Linked DNA regions of Homo sapiens: regions 1, 2 and 3 are each linked to region 4. Evidence: promoter capture Hi-C in 16 types of primary human blood cells and fetal thymus (Javierre and others, 2016). All regions are on one chromosome and are shown on one strand. Each heading gives the region's core, a stretch centred on a gene start or on the middle of the fragment in contact. The rest is flanking DNA. Distances are from core to core; before and after follow the strand shown.

What was found. The method cuts DNA at HindIII sites, captures the fragments that hold promoters and counts their contacts. A CHiCAGO score of 5 or more calls a contact.
Region 1: the fragment with the promoter of PANX1 here is called in contact with the fragment with the promoter of SLC36A4 in region 4 in 13 of 17 cell types (total CD4 T cells, total CD8 T cells, activated CD4 T cells and 10 more); the score reaches 12.8 in total CD4 T cells.
Region 2: a contact is called between a fragment that was not itself captured here and the fragment with the promoter of SLC36A4 in region 4, in 1 of 17 cell types (M2 macrophages). The highest score is 5.8, in M2 macrophages.
Region 3: a fragment that was not itself captured here is called in contact with the fragment with the promoter of SLC36A4 in region 4 in 2 of 17 cell types (M0 macrophages and M2 macrophages); the score reaches 7.2 in M0 macrophages.

The regions. Positions count from the first base shown.
Region 1 is chr11:94,127,199-94,132,241 of GRCh38, reverse strand. It overlaps PANX1 (pannexin 1), which reads right to left and starts at 3,401. Exons shown (of 5, transcript NM_015368.4): 1 at 2,749-3,401. The coding sequence starts at 2,929. RefSeq lists enhancers at 2,829-3,088, 3,409-3,468 and a silencer at 3,109-3,178. The HindIII fragment of the contact is 7,489 bases long and covers 1-3,686 here.
Region 2 is chr11:93,810,438-93,815,485 of GRCh38, reverse strand. MED17 (mediator complex subunit 17) reads right to left here. Exons shown (of 12, transcript NM_004268.5): 12 at 523-3,633. The coding sequence ends at 3,422. Among named protein-coding and RNA genes, the nearest start is that of MED17, 29 kb to the right of the region's middle. The HindIII fragment of the contact is 1,257 bases long and covers 2,707-3,963 here.
Region 3 is chr11:93,766,607-93,771,841 of GRCh38, reverse strand. No RefSeq gene overlaps it. Among named protein-coding and RNA genes, the nearest start is that of MED17, 15 kb to the left of the region's middle. The HindIII fragment of the contact is 822 bases long and covers 2,495-3,316 here.
Region 4 is chr11:93,195,849-93,201,284 of GRCh38, reverse strand. SLC36A4 (solute carrier family 36 member 4) reads left to right here and starts at 3,294. Exons shown (of 11, transcript NM_152313.4): 1 at 3,294-3,507. The coding sequence starts at 3,453. RefSeq lists a silencer at 3,153-3,532. The HindIII fragment of the contact is 1,801 bases long and covers 2,677-4,477 here.

The DNA of each region.
Region 1 (5,043 bases), core at 2,152-4,651, 930 kb before region 4:
AGATTCTTATGTCCTACGTGTGTCTGACACCCCATTGCCAAGGTACAGCATCATGCACATAACAATCAATTAGCAAGGTCTGATGATGCCAAAAGCTATCACCTTTAATTCACAACAAATGTTTATAGAGTAGTTTCAATCTCCATGCAAAACATGCATAGACAGGTTATAAAGCTCTGTGTTAAGTTCAACAAAAGAGTATTCCAAGCACCAGAGAGGGAAGCAGTAATTATCAACAGAGGAAGGATGAAGCCATGTTTTAAGTCTGCAGGCCTTATCTCAGTGTCTTCCCGGGGCCTGAGTTCACTGGCCAATATGGTGGGCAAAGTGCCAGCTCCATTTCAATTACTTCATTCTCCCTTTATTGCTGTTCTTTTTTTTGGTTTGTTTTTGGCTGAGTGCATACTACTAACTACACAAAATTAAATGCTGCATGACATGATCCCTCCCACTGTACCAACTCCATGTATTAATCTATGTACCTCTCCCCTCTTCTCAAAAGCCCTTCTTCTGGTTTTATCTAAATGTATACCTAATCTAATAGGTCTTCCCTGGTCCTGTTAGCTTCATCCCACATGTCTGTCCTCCCCTGGAACTCCTGAAAACACTTCAGAAAACATGGGAGTCTGCTTGACAGCTCCTCACCCAAGTGCCTGCCAACCTTCACCAGCCTGGAGCTCATAGCTCAACACCTGGCTGGGTGCTGAATTACACACAGCTGAATGACTTACCTGCTAACAGATACCTTCTAGTGCCCAACTGCATAGTAAACTGCCACAGGGCAGGGAGAGGGCAGGGCAAGAACAAGGTCTCAAAATCCTTTCCCATCTCCCTCAGCACACAACAGTGCTATGCACACAGCATGAGCTCAAACTCTTGCTAGTTAAAACCACTCCCAATACCCCAAAAATACCTCTCAGACAGCCCACCAATTTAGACGTATCTAAGGCATTACAGGTACAGGTGCCTTAGGAGTCCCTCTAGTACATGTGCTAGAGGTGGAGATTGGTCACAGAGGGTGACTAACTCCTTCCTCCTGCCTTTCTGTCCCAACCAGGTACCCAAGACTTGCACCTCCAAGACAGGGATCATGCCTCTTTTACTCCCGGGTCCTTGGAGGTCAGCACCGAGTTCAGCACACAGCCAGTACTGAAGGAGGAATTGACCAAAGGGAGAGATTATCTCCAGGACTCATGCTACTTGGTGGTTTTGCTTTCAGCTGGAAGCCTCAATCCACTGTCAAATGGAAACTTAAAGAACATCCCGATGACTATGCCTGCGCAAAGAGCAGGAAAACTAAAAACTATTTTCCACAATGAATTTGGCAACTTCCTGCCAAGCTGAACAACTTAGTGCTGCAGATTGCAAAATCACACTCATAGTCATTCTTTCCTAATCAACTATTCCCTCAACTTCACAATTCCCATCACCACCAACACCACACTCCACTCACCCAGACATACAACCTCCGCAGCACGTTTGACCAGTACTGCCGTTCATGGCCTATTAAATACTAGGTACTCAAGTGCTGCTTATTTACTCCTTGATCGCACAGCAATCACCCACCCATTTTCTTCCACTCTTCACACCCTCTGTGCACAAGACCTCAGCCGATGCCTTGCTCTCTGGCACCCAGCCCTCCAGGCCCCATCCTCTCACCTTCTTCCCAGACCCTAAATGCCACCATCATTCAACCAGTCTGTCCTCTGCTCAAACAATAACTTCACAGTTCTGAAACCATCAGCCTACACTCTTCTGTTCCAGGCTGACCCAGGCCCATATTCACTCTCAGACTCCAGGAACTCTGACTTATCCTCCTGCCTTGGCTAGGAGAGTCACTGTGTCTCTCTTTCCAGGAACATATAACATTCTCTGCCATCTCAAAACCTTAACAAAGGTCTTACTCCTTCTTGTCCAAATCCCACCCACCCTCTGACAAAAGTTTTCCCAAAGTCCAGCCGCACTGGGTCCTCTCTCTTCCCCTGCCACAGAACTGTATTTAACCCTCCTGCGCTACCTTCCTGTTGGTTCATAAACACTCTCTCCTGTGTGGAGAGTCAGAACAGCTGATGAGGAAGGTAAGGCACGTAGCCACGTGATCCTGCCCAAACCACCAGACTTTCCAATCTCACACAACTGTTATGAAGCTCAAATGATAATTTACAGGAAGGGGACTTGTTCATCTCACATTTGTAAGACCGTCCAAGTTGAGGATCCCTCTAATGCCTGCCAAGTGCAGATATTTCCTATCATTCACAACCCTAGAGAGCTAAGATCTCAGCAAATACCAATTATATGTAAGACACTGAAAGAACACACTTCTCATGGAGCACCGGTCTTCACATCCTCCATGTAGCCACTCAGGAACTTCTCTGGTGTAAAATTTTAGGCGGCTGGACAAATATGTAGGAGACAGGGGTGAAAAACGGGGACACAGCTATTCTTGGCAAATCTGGTGGCAAGGTGCCAGTTCTAAGGGTGGAACATAAACTATAAGCCACAGTCCGATCAGAGGGGCATGAGGAACAAAAGAACTGAGGAGTAGGGATGCGAGCAGAGTAGACCAGGGTACCAATGAAACACCTGGGCAAAGAACGCTTTGGACCATAAAACTGGGGCCACTGCCCTTCCTGACGCTCACGACCATCACAGCTGGGCGTACCCAGACTCGGGCCTGTGAGCCGTAAAATCGCAGCTCACCGGGCCAGACCGGGGCGGCCACTCCCCTCCGTCCTGGGCGAGGCTTACCAATCGAGATCTCCTGCGCGAAGGCCAGCGAGATGAGCAGCAGGGGCAGCCCCACCGCAATGCACGTGACCATCTTGTCCACAGCCAGCTCCAGTCGCAGCCCCTTGAACTTGGGCTCCGTGGGCTCCTTCAGCAAGAAATCCGAGAACACGTACTCCGTGGCCAGTTGAGCGATGGCCATGGCTGCGGCGCGCCAGGCTCGACCAGGAGGTCCGGGTACAGCCGGCGTCGGGAAAGCTGCGCGGCGCCTTCACCCAGTCACCGGCCGGGCGCGCGGCTTTCGCTTTCCCTTTGCCTGCTCCCGCATCCCGCCTGCCTTTGTGTCTCGGTGCCTCAGGCTCCCAGCGACTCCGCTGGGCTCTCGCGCTCGCTGCCTCCGCCGCCGGCGGGGCGGGGCGGGGCGGGAACCCGAGAGCTCCGCTTCCTGCGGTTCCACCCCGCACGCCCGTGCAAGTCCCCGGGCCGCGCGCGGCACTCGGATTCGCGCCTCTCCCGCGCACCCCCAGGCGCGGGAACCACGCGCGGAACAAAGCGCTTCCCTCTGGCCCTGCCCCTCCGCGCCGCCCTGGCTGCCGAAGCGGCCGCCGGGATAGCCCTGCGCTCACAGCCAGCTGCGCCGCGCTCTTCCGGAACCATGCGGGGAAACCAAGTACCCAGGGGCGTGGAGCTTCCGGAAGACGCGGTGACGCGGGGCGGGGTGGGCGCGGCTGCATTCCGCGCCCCTCGGGCCACTCTCTGACAAAGGGATTTTCCCACTGAGCGGCACCTTTGGAAATTCTCCCGTCCCTCCCTGCCGGATTCTCCTCACGTCCTGGCACCCGGGAGTTTTAAAATCATTTCTGCAAGCGACTCTTTCTGTGGATGGGATGGCCCCCTTTACGCCCCACCCCCAACATTTCCAACACGGTGAAATCGGGTTAGAAGGAGCTGCAAAAGCTTCAAAGAACAGTCAGTGCCATAAAAGGCCAATCGAGCGGTGTAGACCGACGGTGCCTTGCAGAGGGAGCGCTGGACCCTTCCAGGAGCTCCGCGTGAGAGGGTGGCGCGGAAACGGTAGTGAGTGTGGAGTTTCGAGGCCTGAGTAGCGCTGCTGGTCCCGTTTCTCTTTCCTCTGCCATCCCAATCAGAGCCTTGTTCCGGGAGCCAGCAGAGAGAGGGGGGCCTGCAGGTAGGTGGGTGTTGGGGCTGCAGAGAGCTGCTTCTGAACAGCTCATAGGAAGTGGATGATGGAAAGACAGGAGGAAATACTCTGACCAGTGTCCACGGAAATTAAGGCTGTTGAAGTAGAAATAATTTGATTTATTGGAAGCTAAATGTGAGGATCCACCCAAGAAGACTTACCAGCAAAGTTGGGCATGTTTCAAAATTTGTTACACGTTGGAAGGGTTTTAGAAGAAAGTTTAGGAAAAGGGAGGAGGACCCCTTATATCAGAGGTGGGATTTTTTTCATCGGAGGGTATGGTACACAGGTTACAGTCACTGGCTGCAGATGACAACATACAGGCTAAAATGTTTTGTGCACAAGAAAATCAAAGTTTATATGATTCAGAAACAAGTCAGTGTTCTTTTCAATGTCAGTATTTTACATACTAATCAGTACATCAGCAGTTTGAGGAACTGACAAAAGGATTTGAAGGACTCACAGTAAGATTTTTTACTCAGGGACAGGATCTAAGCCATGAATCATAAGACCTTTCTTAGATGGCTTAGTTTGGAAGCCCTGTCAAATGTGACATGTAGGTTATCACCAGTAACATTTGAAGCAGGCAGGACCTGCAAACATGAGGGCTCCTTGGGGCAGGGCTTGGCTCCCTTCTCTGTGGGTCCACAGATACAAGCCTCAACTCCCACATGTACCTCTCCACCCCAGCCTGGCCGCTAAACACACATCCAAGAGCGTATACAGCTCTCTCCGCGTAGATGGCTCATAGGGCTTCAAACTCATAACGGCCAGGACTTCAGTCTTCATCTTCCCCTTAAACCTGAACTCCATCTTCCCCATCTTACTAAATGTACCACCAGCCACCTGTGCACCCAAGTCGGAATCCTGGAGCACCATCTTCAACACTCCATTTCTCACAGCTGCCATAACCAATTTTCAAATTCTCTTGCTTCTCTCTCCTAAATATAGCAAATCTGACACCCCTCCACCTGCACTGCCAATACCCAATTCAACTCACCATCCTGTCTCCTAACCACATATAGGAAATATGTGAGACAGGGTCCCCCTCCATTCTCCTCTACAGCTGCCAGGATGAGCTTTTCAAAACTCCAGTCGGATCATCTTTTCTACTT
Region 2 (5,048 bases), core at 2,086-4,585, 610 kb before region 4:
TGTTAGCTCCAGCTCACAGGCATGACCTCCTCCAGGCCCCTCGGGAAAAAATTCAGAACAAAGAACGGCAGCCCAAGTTGTCCTTGCTTATCTGAGGTCTACATGCCAGCAAATCCACTTGGTGGGGATCTGAGATTCTGAAAACAACTCAGGGACATATTTTAAGATGTTATCTTTAGTTTCTATAGGGAACCAAGCATCTGGACTCTTAACTTCCTTGGCAATTGTTTTAAACTACACTTACCTTCTTGCTTATCAAGTTGCTTATTTACGTCTCAGCACTACCCTGGAAATTCCCTCAAAGGAATTCAAGATTTTCCTTTATTTTCAGGCTCAGGGCGCCCACAGGCCTTTAAGAAGGGGTCCCGGCTCCATCTCACACACATAGGTAGGTTAAATTCCTTTGATGTTACAGGCTAGTGCTTGCCCAGGTAGTTCTGTCTGTACAAATATTTTTCCCTTGGGTACCTCATGTTCTGAATGGATTTTTTTCCAACTAAACAAAGTGAACTTACTAAATAATGTAGTTGCCCCTGTTTTTATTCATCAGCAATACCTAAGGAGGCCAGGCATGGTGGCTCATACCTGTAATCCCAGCATTTAAGGGCCAATTACAATTCCTGATCAACATGAGATAATCAGGTTATCCCTTTGATTTGATGGTGTTCCAGCAAAGAAATCTGATGAAAAACACTCAATATCTTCACCATATATAAAACATCATACAAATATGAATACAGGACATTCTGAAATGCTTTCTCCTAATAAATACAGCTGGTGTCTCAACCATTTTTTCTAATTGGCTTGACTCTTAGAAGCACACTTGCTTAATGCTTTATATTTATGTAGTACTTTAGAATTTAACATTTATTACCAACGTTACTGAAACTTCTCAATCACCACTGAGGTTAGTAGAGGAGGCACCTCTATCTTCATTTATATATAAGGAAACAAGTTCACAGAGAATCCTTGCCAAGTTCATACAGCAAGCCAGTAGCAGAGCCAAGATTCAAACACAGCTCCTTGCCAACCTGTTAATACTTGTTGAGGGGCTAATTGGTTTTCTTCAAACTGTCTCCCAAGTTTCCATAGCACATCCTTCAAACTCCAGGAAATTCAGGTTAAAACATTAAACTAGAAAATGTAAATAAATACAAGGCATAAGAATTGCTACCACAGCAACTAAGCTACCATTTTCCCACACATTTGCTTTAGTTTCTACAATTCTTTAGGTCGGTACTGGCTACTCACTACAGCGACGTACCAAACAGGGAAAGTAAGACATGAAGAACGTAAAGTCTTCAGTTATCCCACTCTACTCAGATGGGGTTTAAAAGAACAGACGGTAGTATCTGCACATGTATTCTCAGCCATTCTACTCAAGGTGTGGTCCTGGTCCATGATTTGTTACTGATTCATGACAAGCAGAGAAATAAAAAATAAAGCATTCAGAAATGTTTATATTTGGGGGGGCTGGGCACTGTGGCTTATGCCTGTAATCCTAGCACTTTGGGAGGCCGAGGTGGGCGGATCAATTGAGGCCAGGAGTTCAAGACCAGCCTGGCCAAGATGGCAAAACCCTCTTATCAAAATTACAAAAATTAGACGGTCGTGGTGGCACACACCTGTAATCCCAGTTACTCGGGAGGCTGAGGCATGAGAGTCATTTGAACCCAGGAGGCAGAGGTTGCAGTGAGCCAAAACAGTGCTGCTGCACTCCAGCCTGGGGAACAGAGTGAGACTCTGTCTATAAATTCTAGTATTTGATGCAATTTAATCAAGTTATAATCAAATAAATGGGGCTTTTATTTTGTATCTTTTCAAAATTTCATTTTAGGAATTCATTTTTATTAGTTTACCAAAGTATCAATCTGCAATGGGAGAAGTTTATATAAACAAAAACTGGTCATTCAGCAAAAGTCTCAGACTCACTCTTCTAGCCTGAGCCTTCAAAATCACATAAAAGACTCCTTATGTGAGTGGAATTGTGCAGATTAGCCTATTGACCAAGGCAAATTTTGCAGGCAACAATAATTTTTGAAGCACTCAAGATTTTTAAATAACTGCAAATTCATACCAATTATTTTAATTTCCATGGATAGAAAGATGCAAGATCTTGATCAGAAGGGGAAAAAAGCACAAAGTTGTTCTATCGTGGCCCACAAGCTCCATTTTTCTTTAATGAAAACACGGTGGAGAAATACAAAGGACTTTTATTACTGCACAGTCATCTTACAAATTGTTAAAGCAGGATGTCTGTTTTAAAAATTGAAAGCCTTACTTATAAGGAGAGCTTGCCTATATGATACTACTTTCAGTGTTACCAAAAGGCTTATGAGCCTAAATCTATCCTCATATTAATGGGCACACTTTAGGCACTTTTTCCAAGAAGTGCAAACCTGTTCCTTGGAAAAGATAACCCACTAATCCATTAGTTTTTTCGCTTTGAAAAAGCAGAGAGCTGATGGAAAGGCCTTAATTGGAGAAAGCAATCCAGGGCTGCTGGGTGGAGGCTGGAGAATCCCAGGTGGAAGGCTGGGCATGAGCCATACACTAGGTGTCTCAACTGGTGAGGTCAATCAAGTGGGAGAACAGACCAAAAAAACTTGAGGACGCCCTAAAGAGATAATCTGCCTCCTATTGCCTTCAGCTGTCCTTTCTGAGGATGTTCTTAAATTACCTATGTAGGTTAGACCCAGGAAAGCTTAAAGGAGACAACTGGAGGAAGAGGTTATCAATAATTTAGAGTAGGCTGGGCATGGTGGCTCACGCCTGTAATCCTAGCACTTTGGGAGGCAGAGGCAGGTAGATCACTTGAGCCGAGTTCGAAACCAGCCTGGGCAACATGGAAAAACCCTGTCTTTATAAAAAATACAAAAATTAGCCAGGCGTGGTTGTGCATGCCTGTGGTCCCAGCTACTCGGAAGGCTGAGACAGAAGGATCACCTAAGCCTGGGAGGTCAAGACTGCAGTGAACCATGATCACACCACTGCACTCCAGACTGGGCTACAGAGTGAGATACCATCTCAAAAAAAAAAAGTTTAGAAAGTATTTGGGGGGAAAAAAAGGTATTTGGAGATTTTTTTAAACCACATACTTTATTTGATGTCAACATCAAAGAAGGAATATTTTAAAAAGCACATAGAAACCCTTAAGTTAGTAATATTTTAAACTGCATGAAAAACATATTATTTTACATCTTGTCATACTGTATATACAACTGTACATAAACTTCTGCATTTCAAAGCACTTGTCATTTATAAAGTGAAAAGTTTGAAAGTGCTAAATAAACATTTCCTAATTATTATTTTTAAAAACAGCACTCTTTTGGAAGTTATCTCTTCTTTGTGCTTATAGTTGATCTGCAAACATTTCAAGTCAAAGTTTCTGGAAACTTCTTTAGGAAACATCTGGAAAAAATCATAGTAGACAAGGGCTAAGTGCAGACATAAGCAGCTCCATTTTATAAACAAAATTTCGACCTTCCATTTTATTCCACTGAACTTCTTTGAATGGCCCACGAAGATGACTCCATTTGTTATCTTGTAAAACATCACTTTTTGGAAGGTCTTTACATTGGTTACGAGGAAACTGAACCATAATCTTGCTGCCACTTTCAGGTCCATTACGAACTGTGGAGAAAAACCAAAATATCAATACACTCTAGTTTACCAAACTAGAAATAACAAGGATAAATCCCACAACTCCATTCTACTGTGAATACAAAAACTTTGTCTACCAACTTAAATATTCTTGTAAAAAAGTGCTTTTTCAGTTTCAACATGCAAGAGAAAAACTCTAACTTCTATATAAGAGGATGGTATAAATATTCATGAATTATTATTTGTACCACAAAGATTAAGCAAGGTGAGTTTTGACCTAGGAATGTCAAATGTCCTCTATAATTTCAGGAAATCATCTTTTTGTTTGTTTCCACATGCAGCACTGAAAAACACAAAGCTTTTTTTGGGAGGCGGTTAAAGACAAGGTCTCTCTATGTTGCCAGGGCTGGTCTCAAACTCCTGGGCTCAAGCAATCCTCCCACCTCAGCCTCCCAAAGTGCTGGGATTACAGGCGTGAGCCACCACGCCTAGTACACTCACCTATTTTTTTCAATACATTCATTTGATAAGGCAATCATTCAATGAATTGTTAATACATGCCTAATATGTAAAGAAACCTCAACCACTTAAAATCAGGACTGAAAGGGATGAAGGAAAGATTATTCTGAATTAAGAATTTCAGGTTTTAATGAGGTTTTAACTATTATTTGGGAAAGAGGAAAAGGGTATTTTGAAATTCCTAGCAATCAAGATCCAGCAATGACCAAGCTTGCAGATTCACAAGCTGTGATCCTGTGAGGAAATATTTCTAACTACCCACTCTTTCAAATACAGTCATGAGCTGCGTAACATTTCAGTCAACTGCTTTTGTTGTGTTACAACTGCCTATAGTATTCAGTACAGTAACATGCTGTACAGGTTTGTAGCCTAGGAGCAACAGGCTATGCCATGAAGCCTAGATGTGCATGTAGTAGGCTGTACCATCTAGGGCTGTGTAAGTGCACTCTATTATCATACGATGAAATCCTCTTAACAACACATTTCTCAGAACCTGTCCCTGTCATTATGCAACACATGACTGTATTTTTAAAGTAGTCAGAGCAGATATCAGAAACAAAGATCACACTAAAACCATAAGCGCTTCAAATGTAAATTTAAGCTATGTAATACTCATACAAGTGCCTATTAAAGTGCCCACTCGTAGAAGGTGCTTAATAAAATACTTCTCCTCGGCCGGGTGCGGTGGCTCACGCCTGTAATCCCAGCGCTTTGGGAGGCCGAGGCAGGCGGATCATCTGAGGTTAGCCGAGGCAGGCAGATCATCTGAGGTTAGGAGTTTGAGACCAGCCTGGCCAACATGGCAAAACCCCGTCTCTACTAAAAATACAAAAATTAGTTGGGTATGACGATGGGCACCTGTAGTCCCAGCTACTCGGGAGGCTGAGGCAGGAGAATCGCTTGAAACTGGGAGGCAGAGGTTGCAG
Region 3 (5,235 bases), core at 1,656-4,155, 570 kb before region 4:
GTCAGAGTTTTCTAGAGAGACAGAATAGGATAGATGTATATATGAAGGGGAGTTTATAAAGGAGTATTGACTCACACAATCACAAGGTGAAGTCTCATAATAGGCCGTCTGCAAGCTGAGGAGCAATGAAGTCAGTCTGACTCCCAAAACCTCAAAAGTAGGGAAGCTGATGGTGCATCCTTCAGCCTGTGGCCAAAGGCCCAAGAGCCCCTGGAAAACCACTGGTGTAAGTACAAGAGTCCAAAAGCTGAAGAATTTGGAGTCTGATGTTTGAGATCAGGAAGCATCCATCACGGGAGAAAGATAAAGGGTGGAAGACTCAGCAAGTCAGCTTCTCCCACCTTCTTTTGCCTGCTTTTTTTCTAGCTGCACTGGCAGTTGATTGGACGGTGCCCACCCACATTGAGGGTGAGTCTGCCTTTCCCAGGCCACTGACTCAAATGTTAATCTCCTTTGGCAACACCCTCACAGACACATTGAGGAACAATACGTTGCATCTTTCAATCCAATCACGTTGACAGTATCAACCATCACACAAGGTCTCACTCTGGTCACCCAGACTGGAGTGCAATGGCAGGATCTCAGCTCGTTGCAGCCTTTGCCTCCTGGGCTCAAGCGATCCTCCAGCCTCAGCCTTCTAAGTAGCTGGGACTACAGGCATGCACTACCACATCTGGCTATTTTTTTGTGTTTTCGGTAGAGACAGAGTTTCTCCATGTTGCCCAGGCTGATCTCGAACTCCTGGGTTTAACAGATCTGCCCACCTCAGCCTCCCAGAGTGCTGGGATTACAGGTGTGAGCCACTGTGCCTGGCCCATGTATTCTTTAGTAAATTTCTCTTGTTATGATATTCAGTTTCCTTTAACATGTTGTTAAAAGAAAAATTTTAGACAAATTAAACGGAGCTTAATTGAACAAAGAACAATTCTTGAATTGGGCAACCCCCAGAACAGAATAGGTCCAGAAGTGACTCCAGTGCTGCCAGATGGTTGGAGAGGATTTAAGGACAGAAAAAGGAAAGTGGCCTACACAAAATGGAAGGGAGGTACAGGAACAGCTGGATTGGTTACAGCTCAGCATTTGCCTTATTTGAAGGTGGTTCGAACAGTTGGCCGCCTGTGAGTGGTTGGAGTATGGCTGCTGTGATTGGTTGAGACTTGGCTACTTGTTACAAGAGTAACAGTCTGTGAACCCAAAATATCTGAGACAGGTCTCAGTCAATTTAGAAAGTTTAATTTGCCAAGGTTAAGGATGCACTGTGACATAGCCTCAGGAGGTCCTGACAACATGTGCCCAGGATGATCAGAGCACACGTTGGTTTTATACATTTTAGGGAGACATGAGACATCAATTAATCTGTGTAAGATACACATTGGTTCCCTCAGATAAGGCAGGACAACTCTATGTGGGGACTTCCAGGTTAGAAGTAGATAAGAGATAAAAGGAAAAGGTTGCATTCTTTTGAGTCCTTGATCAGCCTTCCACTGAATACACAATTTAGTCTGGCTCAGTGACTGTGCATATTGTTTTTACATAAACAATAGGGCAGAGAAAACAATCAGATATGCATTTGTCTCAGGTGAGCCTCAGAGGGATGACTTTGAGTTCTGTCTGTCCTTTGTCCACAAGGTATTGTGGACAATTGTGAGGGAGGTATATAGCTTCTTCTCTTTGTAGCTGTCTTATTTAGGAATAAAATGGGAGGCAGGTGTCTGACATAGTTCCCAGCTTGACTTTTCTTTTGGCTTAGTGATTTTGGGGTTCCAAGATTTATTTTCCTTTCACAAGTCCATTTACACATCCAGTTAGATTACATTTCACTAGGTATGGAGAAACTTTTAGGCCAAACTTAAAATATGTAAGGAGGCAGCTTTTAGGCTAAACTTAATTTAACAGTGTACAGTACAATATAGGGCAATACTGGCCGGGTGCAGTGGCTCACGCCTGTAATCCAAGCACTTTGGGAGGCTGAGGCAGGCGGATTACCTGAGGTCAGGAGTTCGAGACCAGCCTGGCCAACATGGCAAAACCCCGTCTCCACTAAAAATACAAAAATTAGCTGGGCCTGGTGGTGTATGCCTGTAGTCCCAGCTACTCCAGAGGCCAAGACAGGAGGATCACTTGAACCTGGGAGGCGGAGATTGCAGTGAGCCAGGATTGCACCATTGCACTCCAGCCTGGGCAATGGAGTAAGACTCCATCTCAAAAGACAAAAAACAAACAAAAAACAATATAGGGCAATACTGATAGGATTTATTCTATTTTATTTCAATTATTTTTTCACCTGAGTTGGGGCTTAGAAAACAAAATTGTAAAATATAGCACTTTGGCATGCTGAATGTTTTGAATTAAGGAATATTAAAAGGTCTCAGAAATAAGCCTCAGAACCAAGGGATCTCTCTGACCTTCCTCAGCTTCCCCATCTCTCTGATCTTCTTCCTTTTCTGAAGCTTCTGGAAGGACTCTGGAACTTCCTTTTGTGAGCAGGGAAGCTTCTTTCCAAAAAAAAAAAAAAAAAAAGCAGTGAATCCCCTCTCTAGGAATCTCATCAAATAACCAGAACAGGTTAACCACCAAAAAGATGACACTGGGAGTTGTCACCATGTCCAGGCAGGCTTTTTTTTTTTTTTTTTTGAGACAGAGTCTCACTCTGTCACCCAGGCTGGAGTGCAGTGGCATGATCTCAGCTCACTGCAACTTCTGCCTCCCACGTTCAAGTGATTCTTCTGCCTCAGCCTCCGGAGTAGCTGAAATTACAGGTGCCTGCCACCATGCCTGGTTAATTTTTGTATTTTTAGTAAAGATGGGGTTTCTCCATGTTGGCCAGGCTGGTCTCAAACTCCTGACCTCAGGTGATCCACCCGCCTCGGCCTCCCAAAGTGCTGGAATTACAGGCATGAGCCACCGTGCCCGATCTGGATTTTTCATTTATTCTTGTGAGTGCAGCTCCACGAGGATTACCTGGGAGACATTATCTATGTAAGATAACCTTTGCTCACAGTAAAGTTCTGCCCCTCATCTTCCTGCCACCTCCCCCAGAGTTCAAAATAACTTTCTTCCAGGCCATTGTTCTTGGAGCTCATTCATTTTCCCTAAAAATCTTTTACTCCTATACCCCCGTGCCCACCATCTCCCCTTCCTCTATGAAGAAGGGTATATAAACATCTGGACCTCATTGGATTATTGAGTAGTCATTCTCCTGAGGTTCCCTCATGCTTATGCACACTAAATAAAGTTTGTATGCCGTTTTCTCCTGTTAGTCTGCTTTTTGTCAGTTTATTTTCAATGAGCCTTCAGAAAGAGTGAAAGGGAAGCTTGGTCTTCTCCTCTATGCATGTCAGTGTCCCCACTAGACCAAGCTCTTCCAGGTCAGGGACTATGTCTTATTCATCTTTGTATTCCTAGTACCTGGCACAGTATGTACCAGTACAATATGTACCATATATACCAGTAGAGTACATACTACTATATACTAATACCACTACAGCATGTACCAGAGCACCTAGTATAGTATGTAATAGTAAATTGCTACTGAATGAAAGATTAGGCCACACAGAGGCTTTACAGGTAAACTAAAAGGAAGCTGAGCTTTAAAACCAAAAGCAAATGGAAATCTGCATTTCGGTGTTGTATCAGTCTGTTCTCGCATGCTGTAAAGACATACCTGAGACAGGGTAATTTATAAAAAAGGTTTAATGGGCTCATGATTCTGCAGGTTATACAGGCTTCTGCTTCTGGGGAGGCCTCAGGAAACTTACAATCATGGGGCAAAGGCAAAGGGAAGCAGGCAGGATGGGAACAGTGGCTCATGTCTGTACCCAGAATTTTGGGAGGCTGAAGTGGGAGGAGCACTTGAGTCCAGGAGTTCGAGACCAGGCTGGGCAATGTGATGAAACCCTGCCTCTAAAATAAAAAAATAAAATAAAATAAAATAAAAATTAGCTGGGTGTGGCATGTGCCTGTAGTCCCAGCTACTCTGGAGGCTAAGGTGGGAGGATGGTTTGAGCCTGGGAGGCAGAGGTTGCAGTGAGCTGAGATCATGCCATTGCACTCTAGCCTGGGTAACAGAGCCATACCCTCTCTCAAAAAAAAAAAAAAAAAAAGGAAAAAGAAAGAAAAAAAAATTTTTTTTTTAAGACGGAGTCTCACTCTGTCGCCCAGGCTGGAGTGCAGTGGCGCGATCTCGGCTCACTGCAAGCTCCACCTCCCAGGTTCACTCCATTCTCCTGCCTTAACCTCCCTAGTAGCTGGGACTACAGGTGCCCACCACCACACCTGGCTAATTTTTTGTATTTTTAGTAGAGATGGGGTTTCACCATGTTAGCCAGGATGGTCTCGATCTCCTGACCTCGTGATCTGCCCACCTCGGCCTCCCAAAGTGCTGGGATTCCAGGCATGAGCCACTGCAAAGGGGAGGCAGGCACATCTTCACATGGCCAGCAGGTGACAAAGAGAGGGTGAAGTGGGAGGCGCTTTCAAACAAGCAGATCTTGGGAGAACTCTATCACGAGGTAGCACCAGGGGGATAGTGCTAAACCATTAGAAACCACACCCATGATCCAATCACCTCCCACAAAGCCCCACCCCCAAGCCTGGGGATTACAGTTCAACCTGAGACTTAGGTGGGGACACAGAGCCAAACCATATCAGGTATTTACTGTAGTGACAAATATTAGGTTGCCAATGCAAATAATATCAAGTGTTAGTCTAAATTTGAAGAAGTTAATCCTCGTTGTGGTTAATATGAGTCAGAAAAACAGCATATCAGAGAAATGAGGCTAAAGGTAGGAGTTCTAGGAAGAGTAATCATAGATTTAGCCAATGAATATACCAGATTTTCTGTGGAAAATTCAGTTTTTAATATTTCATTATTTTAGTCACATAATTGCCCTGTCAGATTGTGTTCTGTTATCTGGAAGACCAAAATGGATGCTCCTTTATCAACTAAGAAGAACCCTAAAGTTAAGAAAACGAAAGTTACCTATGGGTGGAGGGTTCAGGGCTTGGTTGGCATGGGAACTTCGCAAATTCCTAAGGCTACAAGAAAAAACACAATCTTGCTAAATTTGCTAAAAATAGGAGCTATTGGGAAAATTGTCAGAACCTTACCAAACCTGATTTACAATCCAAACCACTATAGCTCTGATTGGACAAAGGACCAGCCTTACAAAAATTCTTTCCTGATAAGCAACCGAAGACCTCGAGCCAGTGTCAGCCAGTTTATAGAGACTGCAT
Region 4 (5,436 bases), core at 2,045-4,544:
GTGCTGATCAGCATGTTTCCTAGGTTCATTAACAGAATAGAGAAGTCATTAAGCCAGATATTAATGAGAAGATGGTGAGAAGCTTGTCTCTATTTCCACTGAAAACAGAGAAGGATACAACAGCCTTAGGATACAAAATGAGTAATATTTTCCACAGAGGGGAATCAAATAGAGAGGATACATAGGATTTGGTCTGCTCAGCTGTTCCTTTGGAAAACTGTTTCCTTCTCCACAATGTCATCTACATGGTTGTATCAGGAACTACCACAATATATGACTTTGTCCAACACTCACTTACTTAACTAGTCCAGGGATGGGAATCTGATCCAAAATGACTCAATCACAGCTCTTCCCTAGGAAATGTTTAAAACTGAAACCGAGAAAAAGAGACCAGTATGTTTCTGATCATTCAAACTCTAAGATAAAAGAATTGAGAGCTTTTAGGAAACATGTTTCCTACCAGGTGAACCTGAGAAGCAGAGGAGTTCTGCAGTGGAAACCTGCACAGACACACAAGCAGATGCACAGAGAAAAGCGATCACTGAAGAAGAGAGTCTCAGAGGCATAAGAATCAGTTGTCCTGAGCCCAGTCTCATCTCTGTTCTAGCAATCTCAGTGTCCTCATTAAATTCCTCTTTTGGCTTAAGCTAGTTTGAATTGTCCTCTGTATTGCAATTAAAAAAAAAAAACTATAGCTAATATGCTCACTTTATTTGATGCTTCCTGTGAATCAGGCAATGTGTTAATGCTTTATATATTTTATCTCATTAAATCTTCACAACTTGTAAGGTTGGTGACATTATTTTTCACATAAGAAAACTTTAGAGATCTAACTATTATATAATAGACAACTCTATCTAGATGTTCCACAGGTGTCTAAAACAGAACCATTTCTCCATCTGTAAAAGAGGAAAGGCTAGATTCACTGCTGGAAATGCTCTTCCCTCTACACACACCAAGCCAACTCCTTCTTACCTTCATGTGTCAGCTTAAGTGTCTTCAGATAAGACTATCCCACCTTCTCAATCTAAAGTAGGTTCCGTGGTGGTACCCTGTTATTTTCCTAACCAACAATTGTAATGACATATTTAGTATTTTGTTTTGTTCTGTTCTGTCACATGCTATATACTATGAACTCCATGACAGTAGGGACCATACCAACATTATTTGCCCTTCTAGCCCCAGCATCTAGCATACTTCCTGATATATGGAAGGTGCTCCGTAAAATGTGCTTGAATACATTAAAGACTTCTAAATGTTTCCTTTCATATACCTATGAGGCTATATTCAGTAACTTTCAACAACTGTTCATTGAGTGACTGGTATTTGTAAGTCACTGTGCTAGGCCTGTTTGGACAAAGACAAATACAGTTAATTCCTCAACAGGCCTAGCACAGTGCCTTGCACATAATAGTATACAGCATAGTATAAAGCCCAGAAAGAGGAATAATTATAAGTGGAGAAGTGTTGTAACAGAGATACGAACAAAGTGCTGCAGTTGCAAAGAAGGAAGTAGTTAAGATGTGATGCAAGAAGTTAAAGTCAGGAAAAGAAATGAATTTCCAGGGTTCAAATTGTCACATTCTGTATAATGTCTCTATTTTGATACAGCTGTACTTTATATCTGCTTCTAATTTATAAGACCTGGAGTAGAAGTCCTAGTAAATATGTTCTCAAGTAGAGATGCATGAAAAACATATTTCTCTTGAATCTTATGATCATTGTTATCACTTGCTTTATCTCCACATCACTGTAAAGACATTGGGCCTCCTACCTCAGCCCAACCCTCTTCAAAAGATTTCAGGCCTATACTACAAGTCAAACTTTTCTTCCTTCCATATTGCCAGATCTGCTTTCCCTGAAGCTGAGATTAGGGGACAATGACTTTTGATCCCTTTTAACTCTCAAAGGATAATGTTCTTTTAAGATGCTGTCCCACATGTTCTCATTATAATGAGTGGTTTATGGAAAATTACCTTGGTCCTATAATTTCTGTCTGATGCCTATCTTCTCTCCTGCTGATCTTTAACCAGGTGATCCACCCCAACACAGGTTAGGGAACATTGCTCTAGCTATGTTCCAGAATAGATTTCTTCTTCTTCTTCTTTTTTAAAAAAAATCTCCTTTACCCCTTTATTTGTCAGGAACACTTCAAATAAAACCTTCTTTTGGGATTTGCATGTGTATGTATGTGAACAAATTGGGTTCACTTAAAGGAAAAGAAAGGGGGTTGGCAAACTGTCATTATCACTAGTTATCTAGTGAAAGCCTACAGAGGATGCAACAGGAGGAAAGATGTAGATAGTATGTAACTGCGTACCTTTTTAATCTCAGAATTTTAAATATTTAACACCATTGCCATATAGTTACATCAGTGACTGTTAATCAGACCCACTCCCCCCCAAAAAAACCCTTTCCTAAAGCAACCCCACTGAATGAAACGGACACAAATAAAAAGGATTGTCTGGTGTACTGACTTCCAAGAACTATGAAGTGAAAAAAAAAAGAAAGCGATTTTAAAATTAAAATAAATATTTTCCTTTTAAACCAAAAGCTTGCTTCATCCATTGATTCATCGAATATTCATTGGTACCCATCTGGGAGGCCAGCTTTGCATATTTTTCGAGAGCTCCAGCTCTGAAGGCAGAAGGATTCTACTTCTGCCATGTACAAGCTTCCTGTCCCCAGACACGTTACTTACCTCCGTGCCTTAATCCCTTCATCTTTAGCGTTAATGTAAATATTAGAATTATCTCACAAATTGTAGTCAGAATTAAAGATAATGTATGTATGGTGCTTAGGAGTACTTGAAACTACATCAGTACACTTAGTCTTTACCTTAATTTTCTTTCAGCACCACGGTCAACGTCAAATATCTGGAAGGACATTGAAATATCCTGAAAGTGAAATTGTATATGACTTAATTAAATTCTATTTAAGTGTCTCCTGTAACTCTAACTATAGAAACAGGGAGACGAATAACCAGAGTAGTCAGAACCTCAGCATGGGTAGGGGACAAATCCCGTCCTTCTTCGCATTCTCCAAGGTGACTTACAGAACGCTAACGCCTTGCATACGGACAGGCGCCCCAAATTTAAGTTCGCCGTCATCTTTAAAACCCCCAGGGAGCTATGGGCCCGGGTCTCGGCTAGCTCTAAGGTCCCACCCTCGCTGATCTCAGGTTACCCAACCCTCCTCTCGGGTTACCCAACCCGGCCTCGCAGCAGTCCTCGGGTCTTCGGCCCCTCCCGCCCCTCGCCGGCGGTGCCCGCCGAGCCGGGCTGTCCCACTGCGCATGCTCCTCGCCGCGCGGTTGGGGAGCGCCGGGGCAGGGAGGCGGGCACCAGGCGCGGGTCCCTCCGGGCAGGGGAGGTAGGCCTGGGCCTGACGCCGGCCACGCAGCGGCGGGAGAGTGAGCACTCGGGCGGCGGCGTCCTGGAGACCCGCGAGAGATGGAAGCGGCGGCGACGCCGGCGGCTGCCGGGGCGGCGAGGCGCGAGGAGCTAGGTCGGTGTTGTGCGTGGGCAGGGAGCCGGGGCTGACGTGGGCGGGGGTCTGTGCGGGAGTCGGGTGCGCCCACACCTCCAGGGGCCCCGCGCTTGGCCTGAGTTGAGGCCCGATTGCTAACTGACCCCGTGGTCAGCATCCGCAAAGGAACCGGTTATCTGACCCCGAGAACTTGGTCAGACGAAGCCCAGGCCTGAATAGGGCGTTAAAATATGTGTGTGTGTGTTTGCGCGCGCGCGTGTGGGTGAGTGTGTGTGTTGAGTGGGGCGGGGCCCTGTGGGTACACGTCAAAGACGCAAGAGCCTGCGCCGTGACTCACGGTTTTTTTCCCAATGATGCTTTAAGGAAGTTATCATTGTTCTGCTTTTCAAATGCTGCAGCCCCATTCGGAATCTCCAGATGAATCCTCATTTTACTCCTTGTTATCCCAGAGTTTCGAACAGGTCGTGCTGACCAGAATGAACAGGAGATACCTGTAGCTTGCTCACTTGGCAAAGTTTGTTTGTTTTTTGCTGCTTTCCTCCCATCTTGTTTCTTGGCGACAGGGCGTGTTTGTTTACGGTTTCCCGCTGTCCAAAATAAAAAAGTAAGGATCAGGGTGGTAAAATGATCGCTCTCCCAGTTATACGTACTGTACTTGGGAGTATTTTTCATTCGATGCTGATTAAATGTAATTAAAAAATTAAATCTAAATGGAATCTTCAAGAAAACCGTTGAACTTTAAAAAATACCGTATTATAAGTAACTGATAGGTTGTTGTTATTCCTCTAATAGCCTGCAGGGCACTTTGCAATGGAATTGTTTTCAGGCCGTAATAATGGTAGAAACAATAAACTTAACATTTTATTGCGTGCTTACTGTGTGCAAACACTGTGCTAAGTGCTTTACCTATGCATTGTCTTTAATCCTCACAGCAACTGAGATAGGTGCTATCATGATTTCCATTTTATAGATACAGTAATTTTAAGCTTATTAATGGCAGAACCCAAATGTGAACTCAGGTTTCATTCATTAATAACCTGTCTTAGTGAGGATATGGAGAAATGGGTATTCTCATGCATTGCTGGCAGGAAAGGGATAATATATTTAGCCTTAAAAATGTACATATCGGCCTGGCGCGGTGGCTCACGCCTGTAATCCCAGCACTTTGGGAGGCTGAGGCGGCCGGATCATCACAAGGTCAGGAGATGGAGACCATCCTGGCTAACACGGTGAAACCCCGTCTCTACTAAAAACACAAAAAATTAGCCGGGCGTGGTGGCGGGCGCCTGTAGTCCCAGCTACTCGGGTGGCTGAGGCAGGAGAATGGCGTGAACCCGGGAGGCGGAGCTTGCCGTGAGCCGAGATCGTGCCACTGCACTCCAGCCTGGGCAACAGAGCGAGACTCTGTCTCAAAAAAAAAAAGTGCTTATCGTTTGACCCAGCAATTCTCCTTCAGAATATTTCCCGAGGAAATAAGTAATGTAACCCATACTTATATCAAGAGGTTTTCATTATAGTATATAGAGAAAAGCTGTTAACTAAAGTACAATGAAAGGAAATTGGTTAAATTGTGGTATAGTTTTACATTGCCTACCATTAAAAGTGATGTGGAAAGATGTTCAGCATGTACATTTTCTTTAACTGAAAAAAAGTTTCAAATTATTTCAGTTTTTTTAAGTTTTATATTTTCATTAATTCAACACATATTCATTGAGCTTCCCCTAGGCACTTGAGATACATCGTGAGCAAAACAGATAAAAATTCCTGTTCTTAATGGAGCTTGTATTTAGTAATGGGAAGCAGAGAGTAAGCAGTAAAGACAATAACCAGTTAATTATATAGTATGTTAGGTGAAAAGTGCTATGGAAAACAAGAGCAGGGTAAGGGAAATCAGGAATGAGGGTGGGGGCTAGGCAGTTTACAGTATTTTATAAAATGGTTGGGATG